3 separate regions of the Homo sapiens genome follow, and all the other regions are linked to region 3. Evidence: promoter capture Hi-C in 16 types of primary human blood cells and fetal thymus (Javierre and others, 2016). All regions are on one chromosome and are shown on one strand. Each heading gives the region's core, a stretch centred on a gene start or on the middle of the fragment in contact. The rest is flanking DNA. Distances are from core to core; before and after follow the strand shown. Region 1 has its middle 45 kb from the start of ANXA4. Region 2 overlaps GMCL1 (germ cell-less 1, spermatogenesis associated). Region 3 holds the start of GFPT1 (glutamine--fructose-6-phosphate transaminase 1).

Region 1 (3,969 bases), core at 183-2,682, 310 kb before region 3:
GTGCTGGTGCTTGGCAAAGACCATCACATCCTCCTCTTTACCCATGATTCATATCTTCAGTTGTCCCCCCTCACCCGAATCTTTCCTTCAATCCATCAGCTTTTTAAGATATTAGTATAGTCTATTTTCCAGGCTTTGTTGTTTAGCTCTTGTTCCACTTTTCCTGCCTTATCCTCTTATATCCTTTTGATTCTTTCAATCAATATTCCAAAGCATAAAAATAAACCTAGTTTCTTTCTACTTCTTCTCCCTCTTCATTGAAATTACAACTCAAAACCACCACCCTCTTGCAGAGCTTTATGAATTAGTAGTTGTATCACCATCTTGAGAAGCAGAGACAAAGCTTGGTAGCGCAGAAAGGACACAAGCCTCAGAGTGACAAGGACCAGAATTGAATCCCCCTCATGATCGAGTCTCAGTTCCTTCATCTGCATAATGGAGACAGTAACAGTTCACACTTGCCCATCGCACAGTCCTGCCCCGCCCCACCTAGTCAGAGCCGACAACGCAGCTTGTCCCCAGGATCCATTCCTTCCATAGGTGACACTCCTGCCCCCAGGCCCTCTGGTCATCCTTCTCTGCCGCCCTAGGCTCCCACTATCTGCACCTCATGGCTGTCCCCACTCTGTTCTGGCCTTCTCAATGAATAAAAGCTCCCTGTGGAGAAACAACAGGGAGATGTCGGGGGAAGAGGCCAGCCAAGGAAATGGAGGGAGTTGAAGGGCAGTTTTTTAGCTCCATAAATTTCTGCGGGTGGGGGCTTCCTAGAAAGCTGGGCTTCATCTTCCATCTGCTATAGACTGAATGTTTGTGTCCCGCAAAATTCATAGGTTAAAATCCCAATCCTCAAGGTGATGGTATTAGGAGGCGGAACCTTTGGGAGGAAATTCATGAATGAGCAGAACCCTCATGAATGAGATTAGTGCTCGTATGAGAGAGACTCAGAAGAGCTTCCTTGCTCCTTCAGTCATGTGAGGACAGAGCAAGGTGATAACAACTATGAACCAGAAAGCAGGCCACATCAGACTCTGAATCTGCCAGTGCCTTGATCCTGGACTTCTCGGCCTCCAGATCTGTGAGAAATAAATTTCTGTTGTTTTTAAACCACTCAATCTATAGTATTCTTTTTTTTTTTTTTTTTTTGAGATGGGGTCTCACTGTGTTGCCCAGGCTAGCCTCAAACTCCTGGGCTTAAGAGATCCTCCCATCTCAGCCTTTCAAAGTGCTCAGGTTATAGGAATGAACCACTTTGCCCAGTCCCTGAGCCACCACACCTGGCCCCAGGTATCTTTGATGTTACCATTGTTAATGTTTAGGGCACCATAAACTGTGCCCATACAGAATAGCAAGCTTAATTAATAAATGTTATATACTGACTGCTCCACTGCTCAGACACAACAATATTGACATTAGGCCAATTAACAACCCTACGATGGCCTCTCAGTGTTCAAGTGAAAGGAAGAATCATGTGCATCTCTCATTTTTGAATCCGAAGCTAGAAATGATTAAGCTTAGTAAGCAAGGTGTGTCAAAAGCTGAGACAGGCCAAAAGCTAGGCTTCTTGTGCCAAACAGATAGCCAAGTTGTGAATGCAAAGGAAAAATTCTTGAAGGAAATTAAAAGTGCTACTCCAGTGAACACAAGTATGATAAGAAAGCGAAACAGCATTGATACGGAGAAAGTTTCAGTGAGCTGGATAGAAGATCAAACCAGCAACAACATTCCCTTCATCCAAAGCCTAGCCTAGAACAAGGCACTAAACTCTTTTCAATCCTGCGAAGGCTGGGAGACGTAAGGAAGCTGCAGAACAAAAGTCTGAGGCTAGCAGAGGTTGCTTCATGAGATTTAAGGCAAGAAGCCATCTCTATAACATAAAAGTGCAAGGTGAAGAGGCAAGTGCTGATGGAGAAGCTGCAGCAAGTTATCCAGAAGATCTAGCTAAGATCATAGATGAAGGTGGCTACACTGAACAATAGATTTTCGATGGAGATGAAACAGCCTTCTACTAGAAGAAGATGCCATCTAGGACTTTCGTAGCTAGAGAGAAGTCAATGCCTAGCTTCAAAGGACAGGCGACTCTCTTGTTAGGGACTAATGCAGCTGGTGACTTTAAGTTGAACATGGTGCTCATTTACCATTCTGGAAATCCTAGGACCCTTAAGTATTATGCTAAATCTACTCTGCCAGTGCTGTATAAATGGAGCAACAAAGCCTGGATGACAGCACATCTGTTTATAGCATGGTTTACTGAATAATTTAAGCCTGCTGTTGAGACTTACTACTCAAAAAATAAAAAAGATTCCTTTTTAATATATTACTGCTTCTTGACAATGCACCTAGTCACCCAAGAACTCTGATGGAGATGTACAAGGAGCTGAATGTTGTTTTCATGCCTGCTAACACAACATCCATTCTGTAGCCCATGGATCAAGGAGTGATTTTTGACTTTCAAGTCTTGTTATTTAAGAAATACATTTGTAAGGCTGTAGCTGCCATAGATAGTGATTCCTCTGATGGATCTGGGCAAAGTAAATTGAAAACCTTCTGGAAAGGATTCACCATTTTAGATGTTATTATAAATACTCATGATTCATGAGAGAAGGGCAAACTATCAACATCAACAGAGTTTGGAGGAAGCTGATTTTAACTCTCGTGGATGACTGTGGGGTCTGAGACTTCAATGGAGCAAGTCACTGCAGATGTGGTGAAAATAGCAAGAGAACTGGAATTAGAAGTGGTACCTGGAGATGTGACTGAATTGCTGCAATCTCATGATTAAACTTGAACAGATGAGAAATTGCTTTCTGTGGATGAGCAAAGAAAGTGATTTCTTGAGATGGAAGCTGCTTCTGGTGAAGGTGCTGTGAGCAGTGTTGAAATGACAAGAAACGATTGAGAATGTTCCATAAACTTAGTTGATAAAGCATCAACTAAGGGTTTGAGAGGATGGAATCCAATTTTGAAAGGAGTTCTCCTGTGGGCAAAATGCTATCAAACAGCATCTCACAATACAGAGAAATCTTTTGTGAGAGGAAGAGTCAATAAATGCGGCAAATTTCATTGTATTATTTTAAGAAATTGCCACAGCCACCCAACCTTCAGCAACCACCACCCTGATCAGTCAGCAGTCACCAGTGTTGAGATGAGATCCTCCACTAGCAAAAAGATTTCAACTCACTAAAGGCTCAGATGACTGTTAACATTTTTTTTTAGCAAAAAAGTATTTTTAAATTAAGGTATATACTTTTTTAAGACGTAATGCTATTGCACACTTCATAGACTGCAGTATAGTATAAACATAACCTTTCTATGCACTGGGAACCAAAAAATCTGTGTGACTCACTTATTCCAAATATTTGCTTTATTGCAGTGGTTGGGATTGAAACCCACATAAACTCTGAGGTATGCCTGTATCTCAGAGGTAAGATTGCTGTTTGGTTGGAGATTAATCTTACAGGGTAAGGTAACTCATGCTTTCAGTCCACTGTTGGAAAGGCTTCTCCCAAGGGGATGCCAGCTCTCCCCAGCGTGGTTTCTCCTCCACTTCGTTGCTTCCATTCAATCACTGTCAAGAAGAGCATGCGGGTGTTGTTTTATTTCACACTCATGGGCTGCTGTTCTATGCTGCTTATTACAACACTTTCCACAACTTCTTTTTTCTCCCTCATCTCCAAAAATAGCAAATGACATTGCATGCCCAGATTTTCCACCTGAGTTTGTTTTTCATTTTTGAGGGAAATCAGCACGGGTGCTGAGTGCTGCCTCAGCACCAAATGAATACTGGTATGAACCCCAGGACAAAGTCAAAGGTTATACTCGTCTGCAATGCAGCTGCAAATCTGCCTTGATTCTCAGCGTGAGGAGAATGGATGCTGTTTATGGTGTGAGTACTATATATGGAAATAGCTTGAATGTGCCTGGATTTCTGCATTAAATATGTTCCTGGAATTTAATGTGTACTTTTTTTTT
Region 2 (3,729 bases), core at 698-3,197, 450 kb before region 3:
AATCTCCTGGGCCCAAGTGATCTTTCTGCCTTGGCCTCCCAAACCACTGGGATTACAGGTGTTAGCCACCACACCCGACCAAGGTGACCATGGTTTTTATAAGCATGTATATAACCCACCTATGGTCACTTACAAAGACGACACTTTTGAGGAATTTACTAATTAGTCCAAAAGTTAAAAGGGGCTTTTTATTTAATAAAATTCCATCCCCCTATCCTATTTTTCCTTAATTCTTTCTTTCTTATAGCTATACATTCTCTTAAGAAACTAAAGCAACCAAATTCCTAAAAGTGGGATAGGAAGAAAAACAAGAAAGGCAACTCACTTTTTCTTTACAGAATCTAATCCATAGGTCCCTGCTGATGTGTAATAGCCACATACAGTTTTCACATTAACTGTTTCCTTCATTGTCTCACCACACTGCTGTATTAAACCGTCCTGTAAATATAAATAAGCACTGGAAAGGCCCATTTCACGTGGGAAAAATTAGCTCTGACAGCTTTTACATATTAAAAAGTAAAAGAAAAAAAAAAAGAAGAAAGAAAAGAAAGAAAACTCATTAAGTGCAGCAAACCTAAGTTTTTTTTTTTTTTTTTAACAAGTCCAATAAAAATACTGAAAAAAGTTCAGCAAGTATTCAACTAAATACTTGGAATTTGAAAATGGAAGGTGGGGGGGAGTAGTAAGGTAGAGAATGAATACTGCTATTCTTTTTCTTTTCTATTCTTCCCCTGTCTGAGACCTTTGCAAATTTCTTTAGCAGCATTTTGTCTGTTTTGCCATTTCTTTTTAAATTAAGAAGTCTACATAGTCAGTTAACCATGTGATGGGACTAAACTAACAGTATGCATTAGCAGAAAGTGATCAAGTTTAAAATAACTACAATATCTAAGAGATAGACTTAAAACAAGTATATTATTATTTCAAATGATTAACATTAAAGTTTTAACCTAAAATGTTTATATAGGTTTTAAGTGAACTAACTTTAATATATGGGAAGAATACTACTTTTCATTCAAATTTCTGAAATACATTCATCATGCAGGTATATTAAGTTAAAGAGTTAGTAAATCATAAAAGTAAGCAGAAGGTGAATTTAGAACAAAACCAAAAGGACCAGAGTTAGATAATAAAGTATACTTATTGGAAGTAAGTATTGAAAGGATCAAAACATTTTGAAAATCAAATGATCTCAACCAAGGATATTTAGCAAGCTATTAATACTTCAAATAAATCAGTACAAAAATACCACATAAAAGTAAACAATTTTTTAAGATTAAAATAAAACATTGACTCCATTAGGATTTTAAACTTACCTGGAAATCATTCTAGACTCCTCCCCTTTCCTCTTAACATTTAGTCTATCACCAAGTCCAGTGGATTATCCCTGAATCTCTCTGGTATCCACTTTTTCCCCTCCAAGCTTATTGCTACTACCCTACTTTCCTCCCTTGGACGAATGCAACAAGTTTTTGTCTCTAATGCTGTACTCATCTTTCCTTCAATTCATCTGTCACATTGTTACTGAAGTATTCTTTCTAAAACATAACTTCGTCTTTCCCCTGATTAAAATATTCCAAAGGTACTGTGTATGCTAAACTTCTTAGCAATGTATAGATGTATTTTCATGATCTGGCTTCTGCCCCCCTCTTCTGCAATCCTTCTTATGTTTATGTGGGAGCCATGTTTCTGTTAGAGTCTTGAATCCTCCATTATTTCACATCACTAGATCTTAGTTTACTCTGTTCTCTCTGTCTGAAATGCTCTTCCTTCCCCTCTTCTTACTTTGCAATACAAACACACTTTCAAGACTCTGTGTGAAAATGTAACTTTCGTATGTGACACCACCAGGATGAACTGACCACTCCCTTCTTTATCCATTCACTAAATGCTACAGGATGTTTATTATCATACCTATAATATTGAACAGCTCTTACTTTACCTTTGGGTTTGTATATCAACCCTCCCTCCCCTCTCCACACATACATACTATGTTGTGAACTTTTTGAAAGTAAGGATTACGTCTTAAGTTACCTTTGGCTTTCTGTGTCTAGTTTGACACAGTGCTCAACACACTTCTCTTCAATGAACAAATCTGTCATTCTGCCAGTAGATTAAAATACATATATGTGATTTATACACAATTCTTTCAAAATTAAGAGAAATTTAAATAGTAGGCATGCATGTTTATTTGAACCCATGAATGAAATTAATTGGTAATCATAAGCCATCTGCTTAATAGTCAAGTCATTAATGAAATCTGTAAATGACCTTAGACAAGTACGTTTTTTCCACATTATAGTCATACTAAGATATCTACACAGAAATGGCCTGCATTCATTTTATGCAGACATCATGACTCCCTCGGTTGTAATAAATTGCTTTTGGTTAGGCATTTTAAATGATTTATAATAAATGTCATATTTATACATTTCATTTTTATTTAAAAACTCCAAAAAAGCTAAGCTTTATTTTTGTTTTTGGAGTACACACTTTGAGACAAAGATTATTATTCTGAACCTTTCTTCGAATAACGTGCATACTTACCAACTGCAGCAAACAAGCTGCTGCCAAAATGGCAACAACTCGACTGGGCTTTATCAAGACATCATCTCGATACAGTGAACCAAATGCAACCTGCAGTGCTGAAAGCAAGGTACACATGTAGGATGAAATAATATTTATATCTATTACAAGTGTTATACAAATAACAACAACGACTGTCTTCACACACAAAGACATCCGTCTAAATGTGGCATGCACATAAAAGGATAACAGAAGTATCTCTAATTAAAACGCTAGTAATGGTTACTGGTTGACACTGTTAATTTAATAACAAGGTTATAAATTTCTGTTTATTCTACCAAATCTAGCTGCATTCTTCTAACATGTAATCTTGACATCAGTGGTCACAACCAAGATGCCTTGCAAGAAGTTGTATAAGATACTCCTCAGTAGACCAATCGTTAAGTACAAATACGCAGACTCAAAGATAATCTTAACCCGGCTGCTTTCAGCACTCCACCACTGAGAAATGTGGTACAGCTCCTGAGTCCTGTCCATGCCACACTCATTCCCAGCCCCCACAGTGATCTATGCCTGTTCATCCTTCCTCCACTGCCACTGTTATGAATGTCCCACATGGTTTGCTTTGTAAATATTCTTTTTTTTTTTTTTGAGATGGAGTCTCGCTCTGTCGCCCAGGCTGGAGTGCAGTGGCGCGATCTCGGCTCACTGCAAGCTCTGCCTCCCGGGTTCACGCCATTCTCCTGCCTCAGCCTCCCAAATAGCTGGGACTACAGGTGCCTGCCACCACGCTTGGCTAATTTTTTGTATTTTTTTAAGTAGAGATGGGGTTCACCATGTTAGCCAGGATGGTCTCGATCTCCTGACCTTGTGATCCACCCACCTTGGCCTCCCAACGTGCTGGGATTACAGGCTGTAAATATTCTTAACTAAAGTATTTCTTTGCCTTTGTATCGCACCAGGTACTTCCATGTGGACCACCAATGAGGGGAGCAGCAAGAGCACTGGAATGGGAATGAGGAGAGCTGTAGTCTGACACAGGCTCACTAAACTGCTCTGAGATCCAAAATAAGTCCCTTAACTCCTCTGAGCCTCAGCTTCCTCAACTAAGGATTCTTTTAGCTCTAAAACAATATTTTTATTTATTGTTCCCAGAAAACATCTTCATACATAGGGAATAATCAGTATTATTTATCAGATTTT
Region 3 (3,729 bases), core at 284-2,783:
TTAAATGTGACATTTTTCAGCTTCTCTGAGGCAAGTGAAAAAAGGCACTTTTCCCCGTAAGAAGAACTGAAAGCCTTATGCTCACTTAATCATATAACCAGCCATAGAAGGTTAATTCCGCTAAGAAAATAGGACTTTTTTTCACTCATTCCAAAATAAATTTGATCTTTTACTTTGTGCTGTGGTCTAAAAGTGTTGGGTATGTAAAATCTAGTTCTAGCTTCAAGAAACTTACAGCCCAGTGGGAAAATACAGAAAATCATAAAATATCAAAGAATATTTCTTTACAGTGAGTAGCTCAAAGAGTAAGAGGTTAATGCATGTCTCCAAGTCTGTCTAGGGGGGATAAAAAAGGCTTTCCTGAAGAGGTAGCATCTAAACAGAGACGTGGTGGGGATTCTATGCAGAGTAACCAAAGTGTGCAAAAGATTTGAGAATCTTGGCCCAGTTGAGGAACTACCTGTTGAGCCTGTTGGGAGTGTATAGGGCTGGAAGGACGGCTAAGACCAGACACATGAACAGCAGTCAGCAGGCTAAGACCAGACACATGAACAGCAGTCAGCACTCCAGGAATTCTGTGTGCCATGTACGTTTTTGATACTACTCTACTCTAGAGCCATTATAGAGTTCTGATTACTCCACATTTGACTAAAGATACCATTTAAGGCTGTTTAAAGCAAATGCCCAGGTAATAAATTCTCAGAAACATCATCCCTCTCTAATCAAGTCTCTCTTGTCAGACATGGCGCATTAATTCATAGAATGAATCGTTCGTAAGTCAAACGCGCGGCTGTTAAAGCTAGGGAATTCCTAGCCGTCTCAGGTGGGTCATGGGAGGAGGTGGGCCAGCAGTTTCTTACGTCCAGGCTCATAGTCGGATAGTTGAGCCTTACATTCCTCCTCTACCCCTCCACAATAAACTGAGGGTTATGGAGGCAACGGATGCGGAGGGCTTTTAGGGGCCAAGCATATTACACAAGGAATTGAATTGCTTATTACCAGAGAGGCTGACCTTTGGGGCTTTACAGTCAAGAATTTTGTTATCTCTCTCCTCCCACCTCAACCTAATTCTTTGCAATTTTTTTCAGCCTTATGTTCCCCAGGATTCCCTTTTCATACTTCCTGCTTTTTTCCTCCTCTTTCCTCGCTTCGTGCAGTGCTGGCGCCTGGGGCCTGGGGCTGCACGGGGCACGCACCCGGGCTATTGCTTTGCTAACAATTCCATCCTTCTCTTTCCGTCATTCCCTGCCAGGTGCTGAGTTTCTCCCTCCCTCTCGGCTCGGTCCCTCCCGCGGCTCGCCCCGGGGCGGGCGTCTCCAGGAACTCCAGGCGGACGCGGCCACGAGCCACTGCCACGTCGCCGCCGCCAGCAGTCCAGCGCCTGCGTGGGCTCGGGGGGCGGGGCAGCGCTGGGAGGCGGGACTTGCGCGTGAGCGGCGCGTGAGCGGTTCAATGGAGCCTACGGGCGGCGGCGCGCTGCGCGCCGAGGGGCGGGGCCCGGCGGCGGTTGCTGGCGGAGCCCGGGAGGCGGAGAAGGCTGTCGTTGCCTTGGCCGTCGCATCCCCGAGGGAGTCGTGTCGGCGCCACCCCGGCCCCCGAGCCCGCAGATTGCCCACCGAAGCTCGTGTGTGCACCCCCGATCCCGCCAGCCACTCGCCCCTGGCCTCGCGGGCCGTGTCTCCGGCATCATGTGTGGTAAGGGGGCCGGGAGCGGGGGGCGTGTTGCCGGGTGGCGCTGGGGTGCGGTGCGGGTGCCGCTAAGGCCCAAGGCGACGGGCGGAAGCGGGAGTGTGGAGGGTGCGAAGTCTGGGTGATGGGCAAGGGGCGCCCAGTGGTGGCTGCGGGGGCGGGGGCCGGCATCCACGGGCGGGAGAGGGGGTGGCGGCCGGGAGAAAGGCACCTGAGAGGAAGGCGGGCCCCCTTTGCCGGGGGCTAGCGGGCGCCTTGGCGCGGAGAAGGAACCGAAAGGGGAGAGAAACGCCTTTATTGAAAAAGGAGGAGAGAGCTGAGGGAATTGAGGTGTGGAGGGGGTTGCCTTCAAAAGGGCCCACCAGGTGAGTGAGGAAACCTGTGGAACCTCGGGCGAGGTCTCTTGAACTTACCTTGCATTTTTCTAAAAATCTTTAAAAAAATATTTTACTTGTTTCTGGGGAGGCCCAATAGAAAACAGACCCTAGCTAGAGCCACGGTAGTGCCATTAAACGTGATACTTCCTGCCATCCCTTGTCTCAACAGAAACCATTGCTAATCAATAACTTGGTTCATGGGCTTAGACCTGATCCTCTGGTGGAAGAGGCCTTCAAATGTCTGTGGCGATAGGTTATACATAATTTATCATTTGCGTGTGCACCCATTAAAAATGCCAGCTCTGAAAAATATCAGTTATACCTTGGATGTATACCCCTTTAGAATACCAACTATGAAAAATATCATTTATCCCTTGCATGTGCATCCATTAAAAATACTAGCTATGGAAAGTTGAGCAAATATCTTTCCTAGAGCCTTAAAAAATTAAGGTTAGGCCCTTTTATTCCATGTTTTGAGAGTCGTTTATTATGACCTAAGTGTTAGTGAAAGAGACTTTGAGAATCGTGTCTGACATGACTGATATCTTCTAAAATTGGTGTTAATTTGGCTATTGCCAGTAAAAATAATTGTATTCTTACCTTTCTTATTGAAATTTACAACCGACTTTATCCCTGGAAGAAAGTACACTTTTTTTTTTTTTTTTTAAAGGGAAGTACCATTGTAAGAGAATTGAAAACTCTCTGGGAGACTTCTTATTTGCAGCCTTTTACACGAAGGAACTGAACAGGAGGTGGATTGTACTCGTTAGTGTATATATTTCCTGTATTTAACTTTATGCTCATTTCAGCTTCTGAAAATGAGGAGCAGGTTTAAATTTAGAGTAGATTAAAAAAAAACCCACATAAAAACAGAAACACCTATAAATAGCTTACTGAAATTATTAGAGTAGAGCTGACTTCAGAATCAGACTTTTGCAGTGTCTACTTAGTAGAATGGTTTTGCATTTAGTTTGGAGCTGTGAAGTAGTGAATTTGCAAACTGGTCAATCTCCAGTGTGCTTCATTTGGTAGTTAACTGTTCCTGAATGATGAGGGGTGTGCCTCATCAAGTACTCAACATTCTGGTTGCAGGTCATTTCATCATGTTCCAAGAAAAAAACGTAGTCAAAGTACTTACTGAAAAAAAAATAAATAAATAAATAAATCAGCGCTGGGCGTGGTGGCTCCCGCCTATAATCTCAGCACTTTGGGAGGCCGAGGCAGGTGGATCACCTGAGCTCAGGAGTTCAAGACTAGCCTGGCCAACGTGGTGAAACTCCATGTCTACTAAAAATACAAAATTAGCTGGGCGTGGTGGTACGCGCCTGTAATCCCAGCTACTCGGGAGGCTGAGGCAGGAGAATTGCTTGAACCCAGGAGGTGGAGGTTGCAGTGAGCCGGGATCGCGCCATTGTAATCCAGCCTGGGTAAAAAAGAGCAAAACTCCATCTCAAAAATGATAAATAAATATAAATAAATAAATCAGATATGGAAATCAGGTTCAGATAAGGGAGATACCTTTAGGGTGGAGACTAAATGTTGGGAGTTTTCACATAGTTTGTGTCTCCATTCCATAGAGTTTTACGGCTGAGGAAACAGGTATTGAAGAAATAAAAAGTGAATATTTGAGGCATTTCTGAGGTCCTGCTTTTAAGTCATACCA

Evidence for each region. Contacts are between HindIII fragments. The CHiCAGO score rates a contact against its expected background, and 5 or more counts as called.
Region 1: a contact is called between a fragment that was not itself captured here and the fragment with the promoter of GFPT1 in region 3, in 1 of 17 cell types (naive B cells). The highest score is 6.1, in naive B cells.
Region 2: a contact is called between a fragment that was not itself captured here and the fragment with the promoter of GFPT1 in region 3, in 1 of 17 cell types (total B cells). The highest score is 5.2, in total B cells.

The regions. Positions count from the first base shown.
Region 1 is chr2:69,695,153-69,699,121 of GRCh38, reverse strand. It overlaps a transcript of ANXA4 not described here. Among named protein-coding and RNA genes, the nearest start is that of ANXA4, 45 kb to the left of the region's middle. The HindIII fragment of the contact is 160 bases long and covers 1,353-1,512 here.
Region 2 is chr2:69,839,858-69,843,586 of GRCh38, reverse strand. It overlaps GMCL1 (germ cell-less 1, spermatogenesis associated), which reads right to left. Exons shown (of 14, transcript NM_178439.5): 4 at 2,548-2,645; 5 at 326-438. Among named protein-coding and RNA genes, the nearest start is that of GMCL1, 12 kb to the right of the region's middle. The HindIII fragment of the contact is 1,043 bases long and covers 1,426-2,468 here.
Region 3 is chr2:69,385,031-69,388,759 of GRCh38, reverse strand. It overlaps GFPT1 (glutamine--fructose-6-phosphate transaminase 1), which reads left to right and starts at 1,533. Exons shown (of 20, transcript NM_001244710.2): 1 at 1,533-1,695. The coding sequence starts at 1,689. RefSeq lists silencers at 1,114-1,223, 1,284-1,953 and an enhancer at 1,182-1,741. The HindIII fragment of the contact is 6,543 bases long and covers 1-3,729 here.